Regions from separate parts of the Homo sapiens genome. Here region 1 is linked to region 2. The links are contacts of gene promoters, found by promoter capture Hi-C in human tissues and cell types (Jung and others, 2019). All regions are on one chromosome and are shown on one strand. Each heading gives the region's core, a stretch centred on a gene start or on the middle of the fragment in contact. The rest is flanking DNA. Distances are from core to core; before and after follow the strand shown.

Region 1 (6,545 bases), core at 1,907-4,406, 480 kb before region 2:
TGTAATCCCAGCACTTTGGGAGGCCAAGGCAGGTGGATTACGAGGTCAGCAGTTCGAGACCAGCCTGGCCAATATAGTGAAACCCTGTCTCTACTAAAAATACAAAAATTAGCCAGGTGTGGTGGCACGTGCCTGTAGTCCTAGCTACTTGGGAGGCTGAGGCAGAATTGCTTGAACCCAAGAGGCAGAGGATGTAGTGAGCCAAGATCGTGCCACTGCACTCCAGCCTGGGTGACAGAGAGACTCCATCTCAAAAAAAAAAAAAAAATGTAAAAGAAACACGTACCACTCACCCCACTTGGTCACACGGTCTAGTCTTTTAATTTACTATTTGTTCACAGCTGATTTAAGTTTTTCACATCTACTTTCCTAAGTACTTTTTTTTTTTTTTGACATGGAGTCTCACTCTGTCACGAGACGAGTGCAGTGGTGTGATGTCGGCTCACTCAACCTCTGCTTCCTGGGTTCAAGTGATTCTCCCGCCTCAGCCTCCCGAGTAGCTGGAACTACAGGCGTGCACCACCACGCCCAGCTAATTTTTGTTTTTTTGTGTGTGTGTGTTTTTTTTTTGAGACGGAGTCTCGCTCTGTCACCCAGGCTGGAGTGCAGTGGTGCGATCTTGGCTCACTGCAAGCTCTGCCTCCCAGGTTCATGGCATTCTCCTGCCTCAGCCTCCCGAGTAGCTGGAACTACAGGCGCCCGCCACCACGCCCGGCTAATTTTTTGTATTTTTAGTAGAGACGGGGTTTCACCGTGTTAGCCAGGATGGTCTCAATCTCCTGACCTTGTGATTCGCCCGCCTCGGCCTCCCAAAGTGCTGGGATTACAGGCGTGAGCCACCGCGTCTAGCCTAATTTTTGTATTTTTAGTAGAGGCGGGGTTTCACCATGTTGGCCAGGATGGTCTCAATCTCTTGACCTCGTGATCCGCCTGCCTCGGTCTCCCAAAGTGCTGGGATTATAGGCATGAGCCACTGCGCCCAGCCAAGACTTTTTTTTATTGTATAAATTTATGGGGTACAAGCACAATTTTTAGAAATTTCTATCCACACCTGAAACTCCATTTTTTTCTTTTTTTTTTTTTTTAAGACAGAGGGCCTTGCTCTGTCACCCAGGCCAGAGTACAGTGACATAATCATGGCTCACTGCAACCTCTTATTCCTGGGCTCAATCGATCCTCCTGCTTTGGCCTCTCAAAGCCCTGGAATTACTGGTGTAAGCCACTGTGCCCCGCCCACAAGTGTGATGTCATTACAGGCACAGAATGCACAAGTAGTCAAATCAGGGATTCTGAATTATCCATCACCAGAATAACAAACCTTGTACCCATTAAGTAATTTCTTTTTTTTTTTTTGAGATGGACTCTCGCTCTCTCACCCAGGCTGGAGTGCAGTGGCTCCATCTCGGCTCACTGCAATCTCTGCCTCCCGGGTTCAAGCGATTCTCTTGCCTCAGTCTCCCCAGGAGCTGGGATTACAGGCGTGTGCCATGCATGGCTAATTTTTGTATTTTTAGTAGAGATGGGGCTTCACTATGTTTGCCAGGCTGGTCTTGAACTCCTGGCCTCAGCTGATCCGCCTGCCTTGGTCTCCCAAAGTGCTGAGATTACAGGTGTGAGCCTCCAGGCCTGGACCCATTAAGTAGTTTCTCATCATCCACCCCTTCATCCTTCCAAGTCTTCACTGTCCATCATTCCACTCTCTACATCTGTATGTACGTATTTTTTAGCTCCCACTGATAAGTGAGAACATGTGATATTTGCTTTCCTAAGAGATGTCAATGCATATACCATATATCACACAATCTTAGATGAACATGTATTTCACATCTAACATCTTGGAATGCAAGAGGCATTTTACAATCTATAGTATCCTTTGATTAAAATTGGCAAGATTCTTGAGATTCTTTCTCTGGCACTGGAGCACAGACAGCTCCTTACAATCTAGCACATTTTAGAGTTCATGTAATATAGCATTCTTTACTATAACAAGTGACATATAACAAGGAAGTTGCAGGCCACCTTTTCCTATGCTTAGTAACAATTTAAATCGCAGGACATTGTTTCTGGAAAACTAAAAGGATGTGTCAATAAAAACATCTGGCCCTGGGGCTGGGGGCTGAAAGGAGGAGGAGATAATTATTTCTTGGGAATCTTCTCACCTATTCATATATCTATCTGTGACTCAAGATTTCTTGTGTCAATTTAGAGAATTTGTATTTTTTGGAAAATCACACATTTCATTGTACTGTTAAAATGCATTTGCTTCCTAAAATGTATTTCTGGTCTAGCCTGGAGATTATGACCTTGGGCAGTGAGGCTGACAGACCTGGACCCCTGCAAGTCACCTAAGGTGTCTGAATCCCATTTTCCGCATTATAAGAGGAGACATGATCACTTCCCTTATATGGGCTCCTTAACAAAAGGCTGGAAAAGAATTTGGCCGCCTACTTAACGGGCATTATATGCTAAATAATGTTGGCTTATAGTGAAGATTGTCCCGTGAAGCCAAGGCGTGGCTAGGGTAGGGAATGGGGCCATTCTCGGGGTGAGTGGTCCTGGGTCCGAACCCAAACCACAAACGGGAAGACTCGAGCCCAAGGTCACACCCCAACCAGGGAAAAGACGGCAGGCCCAACCTGGAGGCCCTCTCCCCAAAAGCGTCCCCAACTCACCGTGCAAGTGGGCTGAGAGGACTGCTCGGAGGCCACACGCAGGCCGTTGTCCAGCAGGCTAACCTGCGTCTCCGGCACGAACTGGAGCGCCTGAGCGAAGGTTGCCGTACTCCGCAAGGCTGGCGTCCGCAGCAGGGCCGGCTGTGGAAGGGAACAGCCGCGAGTGAGGACTCGGTCAGGGGATCGCTCCCCACCTCCCAGGTCCTCAGGAGGACCCCCGAACCCCGCCCCTAGGCAAGCGGCGAGATACCTTTCCCCGCCCTCCGCCGTGACCTTCCCACGGCCCTGACCCCGCGTCCTCCCCACCTCGACCTGCCACTGCTAACAGCCCACACCTGTCCGCTTCCCGAAGCCCTGTCCCGAAGCCCCGCGCTCTCGCCACCACCTCACCGAGCGGCGGGCGCGCAATAGCACTTGTGCCCCGGCGGTAGCGGCCCGACAGACCACGGACGCCGCCATCTTCCAGCTGCAGTCGGCCCTGTTGCGCCGCGCAAGCGTAGACTGGGCGCGTTGGCGGTCGCGGCGCAGGCGCAGTACCGTACAGTTGGTGCTCGGCCGCCTCCTGGCGGGAACCGGGACAGTCTATTGTGCTGGCCTGGCTTTGGCTGACTGGCTCTGACCGCGCTGCCGCCAGTCCCTGCGCACATCAGTCCACCTGCCGTCCATCAGCCCGAGCAGGTCCGCCCGCCGTGCAGTCCATCTCCCCATTCCACGCGTGGAAGTCAGAGTGCATTATGTTTCTCACCAGCCGCGCTGCGTACTGAGGTCTGGCGGGCGGGGAGTTGCAGCCACAGCGTGTCCGCAGGTTCGAGCCCAGGGCTAAAGTACCAGCGTGGAAACTTACCTGGGACCACAAGTTGGTGCTGAAAGTCAGTATTTTTTTCTCTTTATTTATTTTTTATTTTCTGAGACAGGGTCTCGCTCTGTCGCCCAGGCTGGAGTGCAATGGCGCGATCTCGGCTCACTGCAACCTCCGCCTCCCGGCTTCAAGCGATTCTCCTGCCTCAGCCTCCCGAGTAGCTGGGATTATGCCCGGTAATTTTTGTTTCTTTAGAAGAGACAAGGTTTCTCCATGTTGGCCAGTTTTGCGCCCTGCCAGTTTTCTCTTTAAAAGAACTAAGTACAGGCCGGGAGCGGTGGCTCACTCCTGTAATCCCAACACTTTGGGAGGCCGAGGCAGGTGGATCACTTGAGGCGAGGAGTCCAAGACCAGCCTGGCCAACATGGTGAAACCTTTCCTTTTCTGTAAGAGGAAAAAGAATTCTGGCTGGGTGCAGTGGCTCATGCCTGTAATCCCAGCACTTTGGAAGGCCGAGGTGGGCGGATCACCTGAGGTCGGGAATTTGAGACCAGCCTGACCGACATGGAGAAACCCCGTCTCTACTAAAAATACAAAAGTAGACGGGCGTGGTGGCGCATGCCTGTAATCCTAGCTACTCCAGAGGCTGAGGCAGGAGAATCACTTGAACCCGGGAGGCGGAGGTTGCGGTGAGCCGAGATCGCGCCATTTCCAGCCTGGGCAACAAGAGCGAAACTCCGTCTCAAAAAAAAAAAAAAAAAAAAAAAAAGACTTCTAAGGTATGCTTTGTTATGTCAACTAAAGAAAAAAAAAAACAAGCTTTTAAATATTTAAAGTTAGTTCTATTCAGAAGTCTTACCAAGAATTGCAACCCGGGAGAGCCTTTCAGGGAGTTTCTGCTAGACTGCTCCAAAGCAGTGTTTCCGACAGTTTATACACTGGTGGTGGCGGCTCTCCATGTGCTCAGAAATTACATCAAATGTGCTCAGAAGTTACATTAGAGCATAAATCTCATCAAGGTTTGGGTGCAAGAGTACATCTGTTTATAGGTCACAGAAGCATAATCATTAATCCTGTCAGACAGTATCTTAAGTACAGGAAGAGGCAAGGGCTAGGATCATTGCATTTTTTACCATGTTGGCCAGGCTGATATCAAACTCCTGGCCTCAAGCAATCCACCCACCTCAGCCTCCCAAAGTGCTAGGATTACAGGGGTGAGCCACCACACCTTACCCAAAAACTACTCTTATACTTAAAATAAAACTATCTTTATAAAAATCATGCCAGATGCCATGACCACAGGCTCTCACACCACACCCAGCTAATTTTTTTTTATTTTTTGTGGAGACGGGGGTCTCATTATGTTGCCCAGGCTGATCTTAAACTCCTGAGCTCAAGTGATCCTCCTACCTCAGCCTCCCAAAGTGCTGGGATTACAGTCATGAGCCACCGTGCCAGGCTGACTTTATTTCTTATAAAGGGTTACAACCTGCAGGCTGGGAGGTGGGCTTCTGGTCAAAACCAGAGACAGACCCTTAAAAAGAGGCAGGAGCTTTATGTCGAATGGCTTGGCTAAACATACATATTCGGCCGGGCACGGTGGCTCACACCTGTAATCCCAAACTTTGGGAGGCCGAGGTGGGCGGATCACAAGGTCAGGAGATTGAGACCATCCTGGCTAACATGGTGAAACCCCGTCTCTACTAAAAATACAAAAAATCTGCCAGGCATGATGGCATGTGCCTATAATCCCAGCTACTCGGGAAGCTGAGGCAGAAGAATCGCTTGAACCTGGGAGGCGGAGGTTGCAGTGAGCCGAGATCGCGCCACTGCACTCCAGCCTGGGTGACAGAGCGAGACTCTGTCTCAAAAAAGAAAAAACAAAAACAAAAAATACCATATTCAACAGGTTACAGGAAGAGCTATAGATACTCATGAAGGGGGTCCTAATGCAAGTATACTGAATAAACATGTGTGTTGTATATGACCCATGTTCACTTTGGGGTGGAGACTTAACATTGAAATACATTACAGGCCGGGTGCGGTGGCTCACGCCTATAATCTCAGCACTTTGGGAAGCCGAGGTGGGTGGCTCACGAGGTCAGAAGATCAAGACCATCCTGGCCAACACAGTAAAACCCCGTCTCTACTAAAAATACAAAAATTAGCTGGGCGTGGTGGCGTATGCCTGTAGTCCCAGCTACTCAGGAGGGTGAGGAAGGAGAATCACTTGAAACCGGGAAGCGGAGGTTGCAGTGAGCCAAGATCGCACCACTGCACTCCAGCCTGGGCTACAGAGGGAGACTCCATCTCAAAAAAAAAAAAAAAAAAGAAAAGAAATACAATTAGCACCATATGTCAAAATGAAGGATACAAAAGCACTCAGTGCACAGGTTCCATAAACCAACTGAAGCCAGTCCCTGGTCAGTGGTCTCTTATTAGGAAAAAGTCACCAAAATCCATCTCTTGTGCAATCAAAGCTATAGTTATGGCTTGTGGGGTCAGTGTCTGGTGATGGATGAACTGCAATTGTTTCTATATTGCTTATCTCAAGGCCAGTGCTTGTTTAGCTGCTGGAGAAAAAGAAAAACCTTGCAGCAGTTAGAACATAGTTTATTCTTTGGTGAACGGCTTAACTCTTGCCTGGCATGGCCTTAATGTCTTGTTTATACTTTGGTATCTTATTGCTACAAAGGGTTCATTCTCTCAGTCTTATGATCTCTATTTTTTTCTTTCTTTTTTGAGACAGAGTCTCATTCTGTCACCCAGGCTGGAGTGCAGTGGCAGGATCTCTGCTCACTGCAACCTCCATCTCCCAGGTTCAAGCAATTCTCCTGCCTCGGCCTCCCGAGTAGCTGGAACTGCAGGCACATGCCAACATCGCTAATTTTTGACAGAGTCTCATTCTGTCACCCAGGCTGAAGTGCAGTGGCGTGATCTTGGCTCACTGCAACCTCAGCCTCCTGGATTCAAGCAATTCTCCTGCCTCAGCCTTCCAAGTAGCTGGGACGCCACACGCCACCATGCCCTGGCTCAAGTGATCCTTCTACCTCAGGCTCCTGAGTAGCTGGGAA
Region 2 (6,695 bases), core at 3,193-5,692:
TGTATTCATACAACAGAATACTACATAAAAAATGGAAATGAACAGCTGCACACAATGTGAACAAATTTCAGAAACATTATGCTAAGACAACATAATACAGCATGACTCCATTTATACAAAACTCATAAGGAAACAAATCTAAACTAGGTTAAGGGCTACGGAGATGGTAAATGTAAAAAGAAGAAGAATGTTATCACAGAATAACAGCTGTCTGTACGGCTTGAGAAGCTGTGATCAGGAAGGGACCCACGAAGGGTTCAGAGATACTGGCATCGTTTTATTTCTTGAAAAAGTAGTACTTTCGCCAGCATTTACTTTATAATTTGTCATTAAATTGTACAGAGATCGCCTAAATTTACATGGATGGATAAATATTTCACAAATTTTAAAACAAAGAAAAACATGGGCGGGCGCAGTGGCTCACGCCTGTAATCTCAGCACTTTGGGAGGCCAAGGTAGGCAGACCACGAGGTCAGGAGTTCAAGACCAGCCTGACCAACATAGTGAAACTCCGTCTCTACTACAAATACAAAAAATTAGCCAGACATCAGCCGGGCACAGTGGCTCACGCCTGTAATCCCAGCACTGTGGGAGGCCGAGGCGGGCGGATCACGAGGTCAGGAGATCAAGACCATGCTGGCTAACACGGTGAAACCCCGTCTCTACTAAAACTACAAAAAATTAGCCGGGCATGGTGGCAGGCACCTGCAGTCCCAGCTACTCGGGAGGCTGAGGCAGGAGAATGGCGTGAACCCAGAAGGTGGAGCTTGCAGTGAGCCGAGATCGTGCCACTGCACTCCAGCCTGGGCAGCAGAGCGAGACTACGTCTCAAAAAAAAAAAAAAAAAAAATTAGCCCAGCGTGGTGGCGGGCACCTGTAATTCCAGCTACTCCAGAGGCTGAGGCAGGAGAATTGCTTGAACCCGGAAGGTGGAGGTTGCAGTGAGCCGAAATCGTGCTACTGCACTCCAGCCTGGGCGACAAGAGTGAAACTCCATCTCAAAAAAAAAAAAAAAAGAGAAAAGAGAAAAAGAGAAAAATATTAGCCTTCTGACACAGCCACCATTTCTACCTACAGTTTTGCCCTGGCCTGAAGAGTGAGACCAAAGGAGCACTCCTTCCCTCTTTCAGCAAAGGAAGAAATTAATCTACCATTTCTTCATGCAGCCACATCAATTTAATAACAGAAATCACAATCTAATGTAATAACTAGGAAAAAATACAAAGGAAGCATTTAAGTGAAGTCTGAAGAGGACTTAAAACATCTGGAACAAAATGCAGTACAACAGAATAACAGAAAAGAACAGGTAATAGGCCAGGCGCGGTGGCTCACGCCTGTAATCCCAGCACTTTGGGAGGCCAAGGTGGGAGGATCCCGAGGTCAGGAGATTGAGACCATCCTGGCTAACAGAGTAAAACCCCGTTTCTACTAAAAAATACAAAAAATGAGACAGGCATGGTGGCGGGAGCCTGCAGTCCCAGCTACTCCGGAGGCTGAGGCAGGAGAATGGCGTGAACCCAGGAGGCAGAGGTTGCAGTGAGCCAAGATTGCACCACAGCACTCCAGCCCGGGCAACAGAGCGAGACTCCGTCTCAAAAAATAATAATAAAAATAAAAAGAAAAGAACAGGTATTCATGTAACACCTAATTCTAAGGCTAATTCAGAAATCAGAGACCCTTACAGATCAAGAGTGGCCATTTAAAAAGCAGACAAGAAAGAAATATGGCACATGAAGTATAAACCACAACTAATTAAACTAAAAGAAAGCATATCCAAAAAAAAAAGCATATCCAAAGTAAGGAAAGACATCCCTGATTCTGAAGCTGCCTTAAAGAAAGGCAGCCACATCCAGAGCCCCTGACTTTGGTTACTTTCCTAGAGCAATTCAAATTTACAAGAAAATTAAACCACTATTTGATCTTTAGTTTGAAATGGCAACATAAGCTGGAGAGAGGATGTGGAACTGCAGAGGTTCTCGAAGAGTTATAGGAAAAATTCATCAGAGAGGACCCGAAGGAAGACATCTAATAAGTAAATCTTAGTTGACAAACTTGGAGAAAAAGTATTTATAAACACCAATTTAAAAGGAAGATCTCAAGCTTAATAGTTAAAAATAAAGATAACCCAGAACAAGCAAGCCTAAAAAATTAATCAAAATTTGGTCGGGCGCGGTGGCTCACGCCTGTAATCCCAGCACTTTGGGAGGCCGAGGGCGGGTGGATCACGAGGTCAGGAGTTCGAGACCAGTCTGATCAACATGGTGAAACCCCGTCTATACTACAAATACAAAAAATTAGCCAGGTGTGGTGCTGCATGCCTGTAATCCCAGTTACTTGGGAAACTGAGGCAGGAGAATCGCTTCAACCAGGGAGGCGGAGGTTGCAGTGAGCCGAGATCACACCCCTGCACTCCAGCCTGGGTGACAGAGTGAGACTCCGTCTCAAAAAAAAAAAAAAAGTCAAAATTTTAAGTGTATCCTAGAAAAACTTTACAGCTTTTCTTTGAACCATTTAGGTCCGTTTAAAAGCTGAGCCTGCAAACGCTTAAATCTGCGGGTTCCACTGACTTATATCCTAAGAGGAGAAAACTGAGCAAGTAGCGAACTGTGGCTGAATTCAAAGATGCCGTTCTCCCACATCTTCATTTTACAGCACCTAATAGTTTCTGGAAGACAGCACCCAGAATTGACAGGATTTGTAATGCTTCAGTATTACCAGAAAAAAAACTGTGCACAGATACTTCCAGGATATGAACAATTTTAACTCACCAGTCACCATGTTGCATGTATTTCTGCTGCTTGTCCTGAGTTCTTAAGACTTCTAATATTCTGAAGAAGATAGAACAAAAAAGTTCCTTCCATCCTCAGCCTCTTTTTATTAATAATTTTAACTTTGTTCTTAAAAACAATACAGTACATTAGAAAGAACTACCCCACCATTATCAAATTTGATGGCTAATTTTACTTCCTCTTAGCTTCCTATTCCTTAAGCTTAATTGAGCAAGACTGTAAATCAAACTAGCAGATGTTTTGTATTAGAAAAAAGAGGTGCCTATTTCTCTAGAACAAACCTAGAACTTCCTTGACACCAAAACACAGCGGCAGGGTCAAAAAAAGAGCTGAAAAGGACTGAAATCCTACACCAAAAGTGACTTTTACAGTGATACACTATCAGATTTTAGTAATTTCTGCTGGGATTTCTGCAATTTCAAAAAAGGTAAAGCACTGATTCTCAGGTTGTTCCATTTTGTTTAAGGCCAACTTTTTGGCTGAGGCAAAGGTGGGCCTTTAATATAATAAAGTAAGCCCCTCCCACTTACGCAAAAGAAAAGCTGCGTTTAAGGATTTAAACTGGCATTTTAGAGCTCGGAGTTCACATGGGCCACATAAGCGAATTCCCTTCCGGAGCGCACAGAGGTGACGTGTATGAATTACGCTTATGGACGTATTAGTTTCTAATGAAAGATAAGCAGGTACCACTCAAGGGCCTTCTAATATTAACCTTCCCTGCCCGGCAGAAAGCCCAGTACAAGGTGAGGAAATCCGAAGGGGCTCACTGCCCTCTCAAACCAAGAGGGCTTGGTTTCCGAAGCAGAGAAACACCCTACCCAAGCACCCGCACCGTACTTGGGCCTCAAGTAACGGCATTCTTCGAGGAGAACGGGCAATCTCGCCCCCCTCACAGAGGAGCGGAACCGCAAGCCAGACAGCAAAGCTGGTTGGTTTCTCTCCAGGCCGAGGCCACGGATGCCCGGGAACGTCACCAGACCAGAAAGGACCCAATCCTCAACCTTCCCAGCGCAACGAGCCGCGGCCGGCCCTCTGCTCAGCAGAAGCCTCCTGCGCGCTCTCGAGGCAGCACCGCCACCCGATATCAGAGCGCGCGCCCCAAAACTGGGGGTCGTCACGGGCGCGCGCTCCAGAAAGCCGCGGTTGCCCACGGGCCACAGCTCCTAGAGCAGAGATATCCGGGCCGGGAACGCGCACGTCGGCGGCCACGCGCACCGAGAGCCGCACAGCGCGCGCGCGTAAAAACAGGCTCAGCCGCGCGCCCGCACCGGCGCGCCATCTCGCGCCGCGCCCACCCAAATCCCCGGGCCACCCCTCCCCCATCCACAGGGCGGGGTGCGCTAGCCCAGGAACGTTTTCGGCTCCGGAGCCGCCCCGAACTCTCCAGGGCCCAGCGGTAGTGGCCCGCCCGCCCCCGCCCGCCGTTGTGTGGGGTGGGCCCCCCGTCTCAGGCCTACAGCTTCGCCGCATCCCCACCCGCACTGGAGCCCTCACCCGGCGACGTCACTGCCGCCGCCGCCGCCGCCTCCGCTGCACCCGCCGGCCCCGCCGCACCGCCAGGGACCCTGGTTCTGCCGTCGTCGCTCCAAGACCGACAGGGTTTTCTCCTCACAGCTCCCTGGGCGCCATCTTACATTCAACCCTCACAGCCAATAGGAGCCGATTGCTCCTCTCGCGATAATCGGGGCGTCGGATCCCGCGAGATCTGGGACTGCCTACCGGCCAAAATTAAAGTGAACGCTTCAGCAGGGGAAGGTGGCCGCGCTTCTGGCCGCTAGAGCGGATAGTGGATCCTAGGGTATGGAGCGGCTCGCTCCGCCCATGGACGCCTCTCCATGTGGGGCGGAGCTAGGGCCGTGGCTTGGCCTAGTAGTGGAGTCTCGGAAGGCTAGGGCTCCAAGCTAGCTCTTTGGACCCACCTTCCGTCGCCCGCCAGAGCCTCCTTTGGTCGAGCACGCCCACGCGGGGCGGGGCCTGGCCAGGCTCGGCCTCTCGCTTAAGGTGGACCCCACAAACTTCTGTCCTGGGCCTGGCGTCCCCAGCCGTGCCCTGCCTGGGAAGCCTCTAGGTTGCTCACCTCCTGGAGGAGTCAGCATCTGGTACTCCCGCTGTCTGCTGCCATCTGAGTTCAGCCTTCCGCAGTTGGGTCCACCTTAAAGCGGGCCCCCGGGTAGCCTAGTGTTTGTATACAGGGAAAATGTGGAAGGCGTTAAAGCTGCAGGCACACTCGGGCCTCAGCAGCAGCCTACACTGCCCCCAGAGGGCTTCCAGCCTGCTGTAGACTCTTTTTGCCTCGGAGCTTTTGCCCTTGTTCCTCTTATCCTGGCAAACTCCCCGTAGTCTTTCGTGATTCCCTTCAGAAGTCACTTCGTTAGAGTAATGTTTTCTGAGGCCCAGGCTGGGTCAGGAACCTCTTCCAGTCTTGCACAGGCCCCAGGGAGACCGCTCCCATACAGTGCTTGGTCACCCATTTCCCCTCCCGTGAACTTGGAAGGCCACCACAGCACGTATGCCCCATCTCACTTTGCCTGGCACGTAGTAGGCACTCAAAAATTATATGCCGAATGGGCCGGGCACGGTGGCTGAAGTCTGTAATCCCAACACTTTGGGAGACCGAGGCGGGTGAATCACCTGAGGTCAGGAGTTTGAGACCAGCCTGGCCAACATGGTGAACCCCGTCTCTACTAAAAATACAAAATTAGCCGAGTGTGGTGGTGCATGCCTGTGATCCCAGCTACTTAAGAGGCTGAGGCAGGAAAACTGCTTGAACCTGGGAGGCAGAGGTTGCAGTGAGCTGAGATCACACCATTGCACTGCAGCTTGGGGGACAAGAGTGAGACTCCGTCTCAAAAATAAAAAAGAATTATAGGCTGATTGGGCGCAGTGGCTCACGCCTGCAATCCCAGCACTTTGGGAGGCCGAGGCGGGCAGATCACCTGGGGTCAGGAGTTCCAGACCAGTCTGGCCAATTTGGCAAAACCCCGTCTCTACTGAAATTACAAAAATTATTCAGGAGTGGTGGCGCCCGCCTGTAATCCCAGCTACTTGGGAGGCTGAGGCACGAGAATCGCTTGAACCCGGGAGGCAGAGGTTGCAGTGAGCCAAGATTGAGCCACTGCACTCCAGCCTGGGCTAGAGTGGAACTCCGTATCAAAAAAAAAAAAAAAAAATTATATGCTGAATGATCAGACTGGGAGCTAGGCCTCTCCACACCAGCAGAAACAAACCTTTTAGATCCCTCTGGCACAGGGGTCCTAACCATGGACAAACACCCCAGGGCCCTCCATTCTCTCAGACCAGGTGCGGAGGGTATGAATCCTACCCAGGCCCCTGCCTTTAAGCACCAAAAAGTGCACCGGTGCTTTCAAAGCTGTCAGTACCACTCTGTTCTGGGAAAGTCCATTCTCACAGACAAAATGTGCAAAAGGCACATCTCCATCCCCCAATCATACCACCACCACCAGCATGTCTTCAGGGCCTTCAGATGCTAGAAGTGCAGAGATAACACACAGACTCTAGGAGAATTTAGCTGTTCTTTATTGACATGGAATTTGGGGTGGCGAGGGTAGCCACACCCTCCAGGAGGATGAGGTAGGTTCAGTGCTTCCAGCTCACACCTTTCCTGGGTCTTCCTTCAGTGTGACAGTTCGGTTAAAGACAAGCTGGAGGGCAGAGGGAAAAGGATGACCACCAACCCAGAACAAGGCCAGGGAGGCCTGGGCAGGTTTCACCACAGACACCTCCCCCTAACATCCTTCTTAAGCCAAAGAAGCCGAGGGACTAAGGGTCAGGAGGCCCGGGTCCTCAATAACTTTGTGACTTTGGGTAAGGGACTGAATGGGGCTCTAGGCTATAGTATTATATGGACCATAACAACCACCGTGGGGGTCCAGGGTATAGTTTTAT

What was found. Contacts are between HindIII fragments. The study calls those that stand out against the background at their distance.
Region 1: the fragment with the promoter of UQCRC1 here is called in contact with the fragment with the promoter of QRICH1 in region 2 in 1 of the 25 tissues and cell types used here (liver).

Annotation. Positions count from the first base shown.
Region 1 is chr3:48,606,490-48,613,034 of GRCh38, forward strand. It overlaps UQCRC1 (ubiquinol-cytochrome c reductase core protein 1), which reads right to left and starts at 3,157. Exons shown (of 13, transcript NM_003365.3): 1 at 3,063-3,157; 2 at 2,673-2,813. The coding sequence starts at 3,131. RefSeq lists a silencer at 2,778-2,877 and enhancers at 3,048-3,147, 3,227-3,741, 3,438-3,547. The HindIII fragment of the contact is 22,312 bases long and covers 1-6,545 here.
Region 2 is chr3:49,089,629-49,096,323 of GRCh38, forward strand. QRICH1 (glutamine rich 1) reads right to left here and starts at 4,443. Exons shown (of 10, transcript NM_198880.3): 1 at 4,284-4,443. It overlaps QARS1 (glutaminyl-tRNA synthetase 1), which reads right to left. Exons shown (of 24, transcript NM_005051.3): 24 at 6,304-6,451. The coding sequence ends at 6,401. RefSeq lists enhancers at 3,567-4,079, 4,448-4,567, 4,678-5,017 and a silencer at 4,078-4,327. The HindIII fragment of the contact is 8,300 bases long and covers 2,546-6,695 here.